Regions from separate parts of the Homo sapiens genome. Here regions 1, 2 and 4 are each linked to region 3. The links are contacts of gene promoters, found by promoter capture Hi-C in human tissues and cell types (Jung and others, 2019). All regions are on one chromosome and are shown on one strand. Each heading gives the region's core, a stretch centred on a gene start or on the middle of the fragment in contact. The rest is flanking DNA. Distances are from core to core; before and after follow the strand shown.

Region 1 (2,799 bases), core at 185-2,684, 560 kb after region 3:
CCCGGGAGGCAGAGGTTGCAGTGAGCCGAGATTGCACCATTGTACTCCAGCCTGGGCGACAGTGAGAGACTGTCTCAAAAATAAAAATAAAAATAAAGTTCTGTTGAAGATAAGCTCACAATCCAAAATATAAAAATGTATGCAAAACTAATCCATTACAAACAAGATGACAAATTCAACAAATAGCAGGATAAGACCCCCTGAAAAAAAGTCCCTATAAGATACAAGCATATCTCAAATGATTAAAGCCAAAAAGAAAGAATTAAAAACACAAGAAAAGAACACTACCAAACAAGAAATAGTAACAGGCAGATAAAACTTGTAGAAAAATAGTTATTGAAAGAAAAAACTCAACAGATGGGTCACACAGAGAGGAGACCAAGTTAAAGAGGAAATTGATGAACTAGAGAACAGATCTGAGAAAATTACCATCAAAGTGCTTCTACAAGAGAAAACATGGAAATGAAAAATGAGAAAGAAGCTTGAGAAGAAAAGAATGGAGGAGAGGAAATATTTAAAGGGATAACTAAAAATTTTCTATATAAGACTGATTAAAGATACAAAATTTCGGCCGGGCGTGGTGGCTCATGCCTATAATCCCAGCACTTTGGGAGGCCAAGTTGGGCAGATCATGAGGTCAGGAGATCGAGACCATCCTGGCTAACACTGTGAAACCCCATCTCTACTAAAAATACAATTAGCTGGGCGTGGTGGCGGGCGCCTGTAGTCCCAGCTACTCGGGAGGCTGAGGCAGGAAAATCGCTTGAACCTGAGAGGCGGGGGTTGCAGTGAGCCGAGATCATGCCACTGCACTCCAGCCTGGGTGACAGAGTGAGACTGTCAAAAAAAAAAAAAAAAAGATACAAAATTTCCAGATAATAAGAAGCCCACACCTAGGTACACTGTATGAAACTGCAGAGTGACAAAGGCAAAAAGATTTTTAAATATGTTCCAGTTGGGAAGACGGACAATTAACAAGCAAAATTATAATTTCACTAGCAGTAATAAGCTCCATGAGGATAATAAAACACGATAATGAGACAAAGAGTTTTAGATAGGGTGGTCAGGAAAGGCCACTCTGAGTAGGTGACATCTGAGTAGAGCCCTGACTGCTGAAAAAGAGCCAGCTTAACCAGACCGGTGAGAACAGTGTTCCAGGAAGAAGAAATATCAAATCCACGCAAAAACACCAGGGCAGAAACAAGCTTGGTGTGCTCAAGGAAGAGAAAGAAGACTAGTGTAGCTGAGTACAGTGATCTCAGGGAAAGCAGTGTGAAAGGGGAGCTAAGAATTCAGCTGAGGTCAGATCTCATAGGCTTTGTATAACAATTAAAATAATCTCCAGGCTGGGTGCAGTGGCTCATGCCTGTAATCCCAGCACTTTGGGAGGCTGAGGCAGGTGGATCACCTGAGGTTACGAATTCGAGACCAGCCTGGCCAACATGGCGAAAACCCATCGCTATTAAAAATATTTAAAAAATTAGCCATGCGTGGTTGTGCGCACCTGTAGTCCCAGCTACTCAGGAGGCTGAGGCACAAGAATCACTTGAACCCAGGCGGTGGAGGTTGCAGCAAACCGAGATTGTGCCACTGCACTCCAGCCTGAGCAACAGAGCAAGACTCCGTCTCAGTAAAAAATAAATAATAAAATAAAATAAAATAATCTCCAAAGTACCACAGTTTATGAATTCATTGTTGGCTTTGGCTAGTCCCTCCCTTAGGTTATGGTGGAGACTTGAATAAATATATAAATATTTTTGCAACTCTCATACTTATTCTTTACCTTGAGCCTTTATTTATCCCCCCCAGCCAGGTTGTGGCTGCTCTTGCAGAGTAAGCAACAAAACAAACTTTCCTTCCATTCTTGAACCAGGAATGGCTTTCTAGAAAGGAGACCAAAGTCTAGCACTGCATATCTACTAGGAAAAAGTTCTAAATGATTTTGGTAATGCTCTGTAGCTAAAGGATAACGCAGTTTTCATAAAGCAGACATTTGAAATGGCTAAATAAGACAGCAAACAACTTTAACTTAGAATCAGCTATTTTTGTTCTATCCTAGATAGAATCTTCAAGTTCTGAAAATGCAGCACTTTCAAGCCCAGGTCCTTAGAAACATATTTGTAGGTGGTAAGGAGGCAAAGCTTCATGTATTCACCTATATTTTTACCTATATTTTTACAATTAGAAAGTTAAGATCAGCCAGGTGTGGTGGCTCATGCCTGTAATCCCAGCACTTTGGGAGGCCGAAACAGGCGGATCATGAGATCAGGAGATCAAGACCATCCTGGCTAACACTGTGAAACCCCGTCTCTACTAAAAAATGCAAAAAATTAGCCGGGCGTGGTAGCTACTCGGGAGGCTGAGGCAGGAGAATGGCATGAACCCAGGAGGCAGAGGTTGCAGTGAGCCGAGATCGCACCACTGCACTCCAGCCTGGGTGACAGAGTGAGACTGTCTCAAAAAAAAAAAAAGAAAGAAAGAAAGTTAAGATCACGTTCTCCCTGATAGTATTGGTTTTGTTTTTTTTTTCCTGAGGCAGGGTCTCTGTCACTCAGGCTAGAGTACAGTGGCACGATCTCGGCTCACTGCAACCACCACCTCCCAGGTTCCAGTGATTCTCCTGCCTCAGCCTCCCGAGTAGCTGGGACATCAGGCGTGCACCACCACGCCCAGCTAATTTTTTGTATTATTAATAGAGACAGGGTTTCACCATATTGGCCAGGCTGGTCTCGCACGCCTGACCTCAGGTGATCCGCCCACCTCGGCCTCCCAAAGTGCTGGGATTACAGGCGTGAGCCA
Region 2 (3,204 bases), core at 705-3,204, 840 kb after region 3:
GGCTCTGGATAAAGAACAGGTGGCATATACTCACTCATGGACTCTGTTGTCACCATAGAGATCACTCAGGCCGAAGCTGATGTAGTGCCAGTGCTCGGGGATGTTAGCAGAAGGGCTCCCCACATTCCTGTACATGCTAACATAGTCCAAGGGGTCTGGGCCACCCAACCTGCAAAAAACAAAACACAGGGGTGTTAGTGTAAGCCTGGAAATCAGACAATGTCAAGCTAAGGCGCTCTACTTTGTAAACCTAAAGGACCCATCCTGGAGGAACCTGGGTGAAAGGTAACTAAACAGAGGCCACATCTCTCCAGAATGAGACTAAGGGATGGACAGCTAAGGCTGCCCAACTCTGCAAGCCCAAGAGGCTCCCTTCTCCTACCCCTGAAAGACTGGGCCTCTTTTAGAAATAAAACAGACTGGATGGTTACCCATTTTGCTTTCTCCTGTTTCAAATTACCGATCCCAAATGAGATTGGCAGGGATTGTCTCTCTTCTGTGGTGCCTGTATACATGCCAAGCTTCAAGGCAAGAGGTACATCAGTCAATCAATTGGCCTCTGTTGAAAGACCATCCCAAGCATCCCCAATGGGCATTGTTCCTGGAAGCAGAGGCTCTGCTCCACTCCAGCCTCTTAGACAGCTAATTCCTGAAAGACTATATTGTGCCCTATGTTAATTACAGTTTGTTCTAAACAAACCCAAAGCCTCTAGTCTGTGCTGACACCAGCCTGCACCCCATAGACCAAAGCTGGTCTCTTATCATTGCAAGTGACAAAGGCCAAACTTAGGCTTAACTTAGTTCTGCACAGAGAACTGCAGAAGGAGTCAAACTGCGCCCTGTGAGCATCTGCACCCAGAAAATGATCCCAGGAGAGACTGCCACATCAAAGGTAGAGCTGGGATGGTAAATGATTTGGGGCCTCTCAGGACCACATTAAATTTCCCCCACCATTCAACTGAGAAGGAGTTGCGGAAGAGATTCAGTTATTATCTCACTCTGAGGATTTAATACAATAAGAGTTCCCTTTAGTAATCAGTGCTTTTTAAAAAAAATCCTGTTTTGGCCGGGCACGGTGGCTCACACCTGTAATCTCTGCACTTTGGGAGGCCGAAGTGGGTGGATTACTTGAGGTCAGGAGTTTGAGACCAGCCTGGCCAACATGGTGAAACCCCATCTCTACTAAAGATACAAAAAATTAGCCAGGTGTGGTGGCAGGTGCCTGTAATCCCAGCTATTTGCTATTTGAGAGGCTGAGGCAGGAGAATCGCCTGGACAACAGAGGCAGAGGTTGCAGGGAGCCAAGATTGCGCCACTGCACTCCAGCCTGGGTGACAGAGTGAGACTTTGTCTAAAAAAAAAAAAAAAAAAAAAAATGGATAAGAAATTTTGGTAGCTAGAGAAATAGACCAAATAGAAACCATCAGTGGAAGGAAGTCTGCATTTAGCCCACAAACACGGCATTTGAGCTGCCTCAAACATCTGACCATTCCACAGACTGCAAAAGCTTCACCTGCCCCTGGGACATCGATGGAGTACACTTTGCAACTGGGATAGCATGCTGGTGGAAAGCTAACAACCAAATAAAAGACATGTTACAAGTGATCCCAGTCAATGGTGCCAGCACCAGGCAATTTAAACACTATTTAAAACCAGTTGGTCTTGTTTCGTCCTCTTTCACCAGGATATTATTTGCCTTTGTGGATAGAAATCCCTATTCTCTGTTAGGAAATGCTAAGTTATTTATAGAACTTTTAAGAAAGTTGCTACAAATAGCTTAGCATCTCAACAGAGGAAGAGGGACAACTCTCCATGTCTGCCTTAACTGATTTCAACAAATCACTTGACTAATTCTACAACAGGTTGGATTTAGAAAAGTTTGTGGGGCAAGGGAAGAAAGAAAAGAGTAGAGATCCCTGGAAAGACCCCATTAGAGCTACAGAACTCCAGAGCAGATGAGAGCCACTACAGGCCCCATACCTGCTCCAGTTTCCTGCTGCAAATTTCCAAACCTGCCCCGCTACAGCCTAGGTCCATCCTGCACCAAGCTGCAAAACTGTGTTTACCATTCTCTGCTCCATCTGCAGCATCCCTGCAGCCCTCTTTCTCACCAAGTCTCCCACAAGGTGTCACATCAAGGAGAGAAGCTTAACCTTCAAACTCCAACTGCAAGGAACTACCAAGAGTCAGATAAAATTAACCCTGTCCCCAAGCACAGAGTATTCTGTTTACTTACTACTCAGAGGCCAGATGAGTATGTGGAAAAAAATCGCATTTTACACTTAGCAAATGATGTTATCCAAGGTCCCAGGGCATCCCTCAACTTAATTCCTTGAACACCCAACTTCTCTCTGCAGGGCAGTTGCAGGACTGAAGTGGGCCATGAGTACAGGTTCTGCCTCTCTGCTTTGATCCTTGCTCACCAAAGTCTCAGCTTTCAGTTAGAATGTCCCCACTACTCAGGGATCACCAGTCACAGAGCCACACTGCTATTGCAAAATGAATCCCAAGCTACCCTGGGCCACAGACAGACCCAGACAGCCTGGGTCAGTCATCCTGCTAGAAACCTCGTGGGATCCCAAATGTGAGGAATATAAATGAATTTCAGGATCTTATTTTTGCAAACCCCTCCACATCTTAGAAAGTACCAGTCACTGATGGCTGGTCGCACTGGCTCACGCCTGTAATCCTAGCACTTTGGGAGGCCGAGGTGGGTTGATCACTTGAGGTCAGGAGTTCGAGACCAGCCTGGCCAACATGGTGAAACTCTGCCTCTACTAAAAATACAAAAATTAGCTGGGCAAGGTGGCGTGTGCCTGTAATATCAGCTACTTGGGAGGCTGAGGCACGAGAATCGCTTGAAACCGGGAGACAGAGGTTGCAGTAAGCCAAGATCGTGCCACTGCACTCCAGCCTGGGTGACAGAGCAAAACTCTGTCTCAAAAAAAAAAGAAAGTACCAGTCACTGTGCTGTTTCTCTTTATACTTTTCTGCATCTAGGAAGGGCTTTCACAAAGTGCTGTATAATCCCTTTTCTTCATTATCACATGTTGGCCCATCTCTGAAGATATGGCTGTTAACAAGCTTGCAGCAGGAAGGAAAAAAAAATTGCCCTTAGTCCTTTGCACATGCTTTCATACCTTTTACATACAATTCTATCCTTTATGGCTACTTGGGTGACATAAAAATAGTTGCCTGAATCTG
Region 3 (2,749 bases), core at 62-2,561:
ATTAGGAGCATTTGACTTCCCGAATCTTTCTTGCAGGCATCGTGACATTAGCTGGCATTATCTTAGCAAGGATAATGGTTTTTTTGTTTTTTGTTTTGTTTTGTTTTGTTTTGTTTTGTTTTGAGATGGAGTCTCACTCTGTAGCCCAGGCTGGAGTGCAGTGGCACGATCTTAGCTCACTGCAAGCTCCGCCTCCTGGGCTCAAGTGATTCTTCTGCCTTAGCCTCCCAAGTAGCTGGGATTACAGGCACGCGCCACCATGCCCAGCTAATTTTTGTATTTTTAGTAGAGACGGGGTTTCACCATGTTGGCTAGGCTGGTCTTGAACTCCTGACCTCATGATCTGCGCGCCTCGGCCTCCCAAAGTGCTGGGATTACAGGTGTGAGCCACCGCGCCCGGACTAGCAAGAATAATGTTAAGCCAACTCCAAACCTCTCTTAATAAAATTGGGCAATGGGGTGGGTTGTACCTGGGTGGGTCTGAGTTTCTGCTACAGTAGGCCCTCAATAAATGTTTGTTGGGCCCGGCGCCCTGGCTCAGGCCTGTAACCCAACACTTTGGGAGGCTGAGGCGGGTGGATCACCTGAGATCAGAAGTTTGAGACTAGCCTGGTCAACATGGTGAAACCCTGTCTCTACTGAAAATACAAAAGTTAGCTGGGCGTGGTGGCAGGCGCCAGTAGTCCCAGCTGCTTGGGAGCCTGAGGCAGAATCGCTTGGACCCGGGAGGCGGAGGTTGCAAGTGAGCGCCACTGCACTCCTGCCTGAGCGACAAGAGCGAAACTGTCTCAAAAAAAAAAAAAAAAAGCTTTTCGAATTCAATATAATGGGCTTTATGGGATGGGGTGACATGGATGATCTTTGAGTAGTGATTAGATTTTCACCTTGTATCAATACACTATATAATTCCTTAAAATAAATAAACGTACATACTTCAGAACAGGAACTTTATACTTCCTAAGGGAAATAATCTTGGATGGAGGTGATTTGCCACAGAGGAAATGCATAATTGGTACTCAAGTGGAAATGATTATTATTTGTGATGCAACGTCACATGCTACCTAGTTCAGTGCTCTGTGAATTAGGTGATGCAAACAGAATATTGTTGCTTGGAACGGTAGCAATTTTGCTGTTTTTAAAAGGCGGCGAAGAGAGCGTCCCCTTCCAAGGAGAAAATCTGGTGAGATTCCTTTAAAGTGCGGCCCGCGCGCCCCGCAGCCTGCCCCGGAGCTGCAGGGTTTGCGCCCCGCGGAGGTGAGGGCCGCTAAACCACATTTCCCGGCGAGCCCCTCAGGCTGCCGCGCCTGCGCAGTGGTGGCGTCCGAGGCCGGCCGAACTCCCGCGCTCTCCCGCCGCCTCGCCTCGCCTGGTGTCTCTCCCGACCATGGAGGGGGTCGCGGTGGTGACGGCGGGCAGCGTAGGCGCTGCCAAAACCGAGGGAGCTGCAGCCTTGCCGCCTCCGCCTCCTGTCTCCCCGCCCGCCCTCACCCCTGCACCCGCAGCGGGTGAGGAGGGACCGGCGCCTCTGTCTGAGACGGGGGCTCCCGGCTGCTCCGGCTCCCGGCCCCCTGAGCTGGAGCCGGAGCGCAGCCTGGGCCGCTTCAGAGGCCGCTTCGAGGACGAGGACGAGGAGTTGGAAGAAGAAGAGGAGCTGGAGGAGGAAGAAGAGGAGGAGGAGGAGGACATGAGTCACTTCTCGTTGAGGCTGGAGGGAGGCCGGCAGGACTCGGAGGACGAGGAGGAGGTATTTAGAGCCCCCGCGCGACCCCGCTGGGCCCAAGCGGCGTCAGGGACGTAGCTGGCCCTCGTCTGCCGGGCGCCGGCCCGATCCTAGTGCGCCGCCGCCGCGCGGAGCACTGGAGCGGACCTCCCCCGACCTCTGCCCCGGCTGCCTAGGCGTGTGGCGCCGACAGGCCTCCGGCCCGGCCTGGGTCTTTACCCGCTTATTTTGTGAAGTTCTTGCAGGTCACTTAGGCTCTGCGAGTCCAACTCATTCGTTCTGTTAATAATTATAATTATTTTGAGACAGGGTCTCCCAGGCTGGAGTGCAGTGGCGCGACCATGGCTCACTGCAGCCTCCAACTCCTGGCCTCAGGCGATCCTCCCGCCTCAGCCTCCGGAGTAGCTGGGACTACAGGCACGCGCCACCACGCCGGGCTAATTAAACATTTTTTTTTTTTTTTGTAGCGAGGAGGGCTCCCTATGTTCCCAGGCTGTTCTCGAACTCCTGGGTTCAAGAGATTCTCCCTCTCTGGCCTTCCGAAAGATTACATGCGTGAGCCACGTTGCCTGTCCTGTATAATTATTGAAGCTACTGCTTACTAGGCAGTAAAGATCCTTTTGTTTTGTTTTGTTTTGTTTTGTTTTTGAGACGGAGTCTCGCTCTGTCGCCCAGGCTGGAGTGCAGTGGCGCGATCTCGGCTCACTGCAACCTCCGCCTCCCAGGTTCAAGCGATTCTCCAGCCTCAGCCTTTAGAGTAGCTGGGACTACAAGGCGCCCGCCACCACGCCCGGCTTATTTTTTGTATTTTTAGTAGAGACGGGGTTTCACCGTGTTAGCCAGGATGGTCTCGATCTCCTGACCTCGTGATCCGCCCGCCTCGGCCTCCCAAAGTGCTGGGATTACAGGCGTGAGCCACTGCGCCCAGCGTAAAGATCCTTTTGAAACAATAATTTGGCTGGGCGCGGTGTGGCTCACGCCTATAATCCCCGCACTTTGGGAGGCCGAGGCAGGCGAAACACGAGGTCA
Region 4 (2,775 bases), core at 276-2,775, 690 kb after region 3:
TATGGGAGAATAGAGTTAAAAATGCAAATTCCTGGGCTCTCAGAGATTCCCGATGAGTCTAAGCTAGGCCTCAGGAATCAGCACCCTTACCCTTTTTTTTTTTTTTTTTTTGAGACAGGGTCTTGCTCTGTTGTTTTGTTGCACAGGCTGGAGTGCAGTGACTTGATCTAGACCTACTGCAACCTCTGCCTCCCAGGCTCAAGCAGTTCTCCCACCTCAGTCCCAGAGTAGCTGGGACCACAGGTGTGGTGTGCCCCACCACGCCCAACTAATTCTTGTATTTTTTGTAGAAACAGGGTTCCGACATGTTGCCCAGGCTGGTCTCAAACCCCTGAGCTCAGGCAATTTGCCTTGGCCTCCCAAAATGTCAGGATTACAGGCGTGAGCCACAGCAAGGAATCGGCCCTTTTAACAAGCTCCCAAGACATGCTTGAGACTTTGAGAAGCTCTGCCGAAGTGGATGGGGGCAGGATGTCTTTTTCATCTTGCCACCCCACCTCCACCCCTCCCAAGGCCAAAGCCCCAAGTCCAAAGGAAGTATGGACCTGAGTGGTCCCCTCTCCCTATGGGGTCCAAGGCCCAGCTAGATTACATTCTGTCTCTATGCCTGCAGCCCTGCACAGTGCCTGGCACGTAGTGTGCACTCAAATATTTGTGGCCTGAAGGAGGTAAACTTTGCAAGACTCATAGAAAGGTGTTCCTCCTTCGTCCTCAGCTAAGAGCACATTGGCAGAACCTCAAAGAGATGCCGGGGCCCAGGTGGCATGGGGCTGGGCCTGGGAGGCCCTGGGCAAATATTTGTCAAATGAACCCAAGGCCAAGAGCAGACGGAGTCAGTGCCCGACGAACTGACATTCACAGGCCTGGAACCAGCTGGACCCAGGGGAGCAAAATCAAGGCAAGGAGGGCAGGGGCCCCTCCCCACACCGACGCCTGAAGATCCCAGGCCTGGGGGGGATAGGGGAACAGGCGAGGCAGGGAGTGGGACTGCGCCATCATGTTTATTAGAAGGTTGGATTTTGGTGTGTGCTCTAGACAGATACAGAATAAATACCTGCGCCTTGAGAACAGGAAGTCCACGATTCATACAAAGTGCTCACTACAGGAAGTTGCTGTGTCAAAATCCAGGCAAGGACCCAACTCCGGGCAGCCCCTCCTCCCTGCTGACCTCAACAAGGGCTGTGCTATTGTTTTTTATTTTATTATTTTATTTCTCTTTATTATTATTAATATTATTATTATTTGCTTTTGCTGTGGTCACTATCATTGGCAAAGTTCCTTTTCCCCTTTCCTGGACATAGGGGTCCTGTCTTTAAAAGATTCCACTCTGAGGCTGAAGGTGCCAAAAGCTGCTTGAGAAGTGGCCTTTGAACTCCGTCTGGGAAGATGGTGAGGAGAAGGAAGCAGGAGAAATCATTCTTGGTTTAAAAAAATTTAAAAAAACAAAAACAAAAGTCGCACAATCTAAAGGTCATTCCTTACTCGATCAGTGATCAAACTGCCCAAAAGGAAAACAAGAGGAGAAACAAGCCCGGGGCCCTGGGCGTTCCTCCCGGGTGGGGTAAGAAGGGTGGGACCCCCAAGCTTTCAGGGAAGCCGAGGTTCCTTCCAGCCACGGGGGTGTGAAGGGGAAGGAGTAGAGGAAAAAAGGAGAAACAGAGAGAGAGCTCAGCGCCTCGACACAGACACTTTCCCATCTCCAGGGCCACCTGCCGTCCTGGCCCAGGCCAGCTCCCACTGTCACCTCTGCGTCCAGGAGATTCATAATAAAAAAAAATCAAAAACAAAGCCAAAACCAAAACAAAATCCAAAAGGAAAAGACCTGGGGCAATGGAATGAGGAAGAGGGGAGGCGAGGAAGGTAGAAGGGCAGGTCTCTGGATGCATAACTCCCGAGCCCGGGGGCTGGGGAGGAAGATTCCCCAGCGCCCCGCCGCCTGCGTGGCGTTAGCTCGTCACGTAGTGTTTGGTGGACGGCTGCCCATACACCCTGTAGAAATCCTGGTGGCCGGGCTGCTGGGAGGCGTCAAGCCAGTCTCTGACCGCCAGGCTGGGAAGGGACTGGGGGACGGAGGGTGTGGGCGGGAGCGGGTGTGAGTACTCCTGCGAGGGCACTGTCCAGGGAAAGTGGCCGGAGCGGGGGTAGGGCTGGTGGCCGCCATGGTTGGCCACGGAAGAACAGTAACAGTTGTCCACAGAACAGACGAGAATCTTGCGGCCGCCATACTGGGGGAGCATGGGCTGCTGGGCGGCGGAGCCATTGGGATACTGCGATGGGGGGAACACGGGGCTTGAGTGCACTGGTTGGGCGCCGCCCGGCAGGGCCACCAAGTGCTGCGTGGAGCTGCAGGGCCCCAGGGGCTGCCCAGACTGGCCCTCACCGCTGGCTGTGCCCGCCGCCCCGTACTGGCCGCCCACAGGGCCCGACGACGTCTCTAGGAAACTGGCCTCTGGGAAGGCCGTTGAGTGCTTGCGCTTTTCCGCCCCAGAGCTGCTCACGCCGCAAGGGTACAGGGGGACACTCTGCAGGAAGGGCACCGGCGTGCTGAAGGGGCCTGTGGAGAGTTGGGGCAAAAGTCGCCAAAGCTCCCACCCCAAGCAACCCAGGCCTCCTCTCCCTGGGTTGGACCTGGGGACCATTGACACCTAGAGGCCCAAGAATGTTACATCTCAGGTGATGCTTGCTCCTCTACCATTAGGAGGTACAGAATAGTTATATCCCCACTTTAAGCTGAAGAAATGGAGGCTGGGGAGGTCATGTTGCTTACCCACTGTC

The links. The method cuts DNA at HindIII sites, captures the fragments that hold promoters and counts their contacts. A contact is called where the count stands out against the background at its distance.
Region 1: a contact is called between a fragment that was not itself captured here and the fragment with the promoter of PCGF6 in region 3, in 1 of the 25 tissues and cell types used here (dorsolateral prefrontal cortex).
Region 2: a contact is called between a fragment that was not itself captured here and the fragment with the promoter of PCGF6 in region 3, in 1 of the 25 tissues and cell types used here (dorsolateral prefrontal cortex).
Region 4: a contact is called between a fragment that was not itself captured here and the fragment with the promoter of PCGF6 in region 3, in 1 of the 25 tissues and cell types used here (spleen).

What each region holds. Positions count from the first base shown.
Region 1 is chr10:102,787,808-102,790,606 of GRCh38, reverse strand. All of the region lies in intron 1 of WBP1L (WW domain binding protein 1 like), which reads right to left. Among named protein-coding and RNA genes, the nearest start is that of CYP17A1-AS1, 43 kb to the left of the region's middle. The HindIII fragment of the contact is 4,714 bases long and covers 1-2,799 here.
Region 2 is chr10:102,506,134-102,509,337 of GRCh38, reverse strand. It overlaps SUFU (SUFU negative regulator of hedgehog signaling), which reads right to left. Exons shown (of 12, transcript NM_016169.4): 2 at 35-169. Among named protein-coding and RNA genes, the nearest start is that of SUFU, 3.8 kb to the right of the region's middle. The HindIII fragment of the contact is 3,584 bases long and covers 163-3,204 here.
Region 3 is chr10:103,349,702-103,352,450 of GRCh38, reverse strand. It overlaps PCGF6 (polycomb group ring finger 6), which reads left to right and starts at 1,311. Exons shown (of 10, transcript NM_001011663.2): 1 at 1,311-1,744. The coding sequence starts at 1,385. RefSeq lists a silencer at 1,183-1,412 and an enhancer at 1,578-2,083. The HindIII fragment of the contact is 14,072 bases long and covers 1-2,749 here.
Region 4 is chr10:102,656,526-102,659,300 of GRCh38, reverse strand. TRIM8 (tripartite motif containing 8) reads right to left here. Exons shown (of 6, transcript NM_030912.3): 6 at 983-2,554. The coding sequence ends at 1,947. Among named protein-coding and RNA genes, the nearest start is that of TRIM8, 13 kb to the right of the region's middle. The HindIII fragment of the contact is 6,582 bases long and covers 1-2,775 here.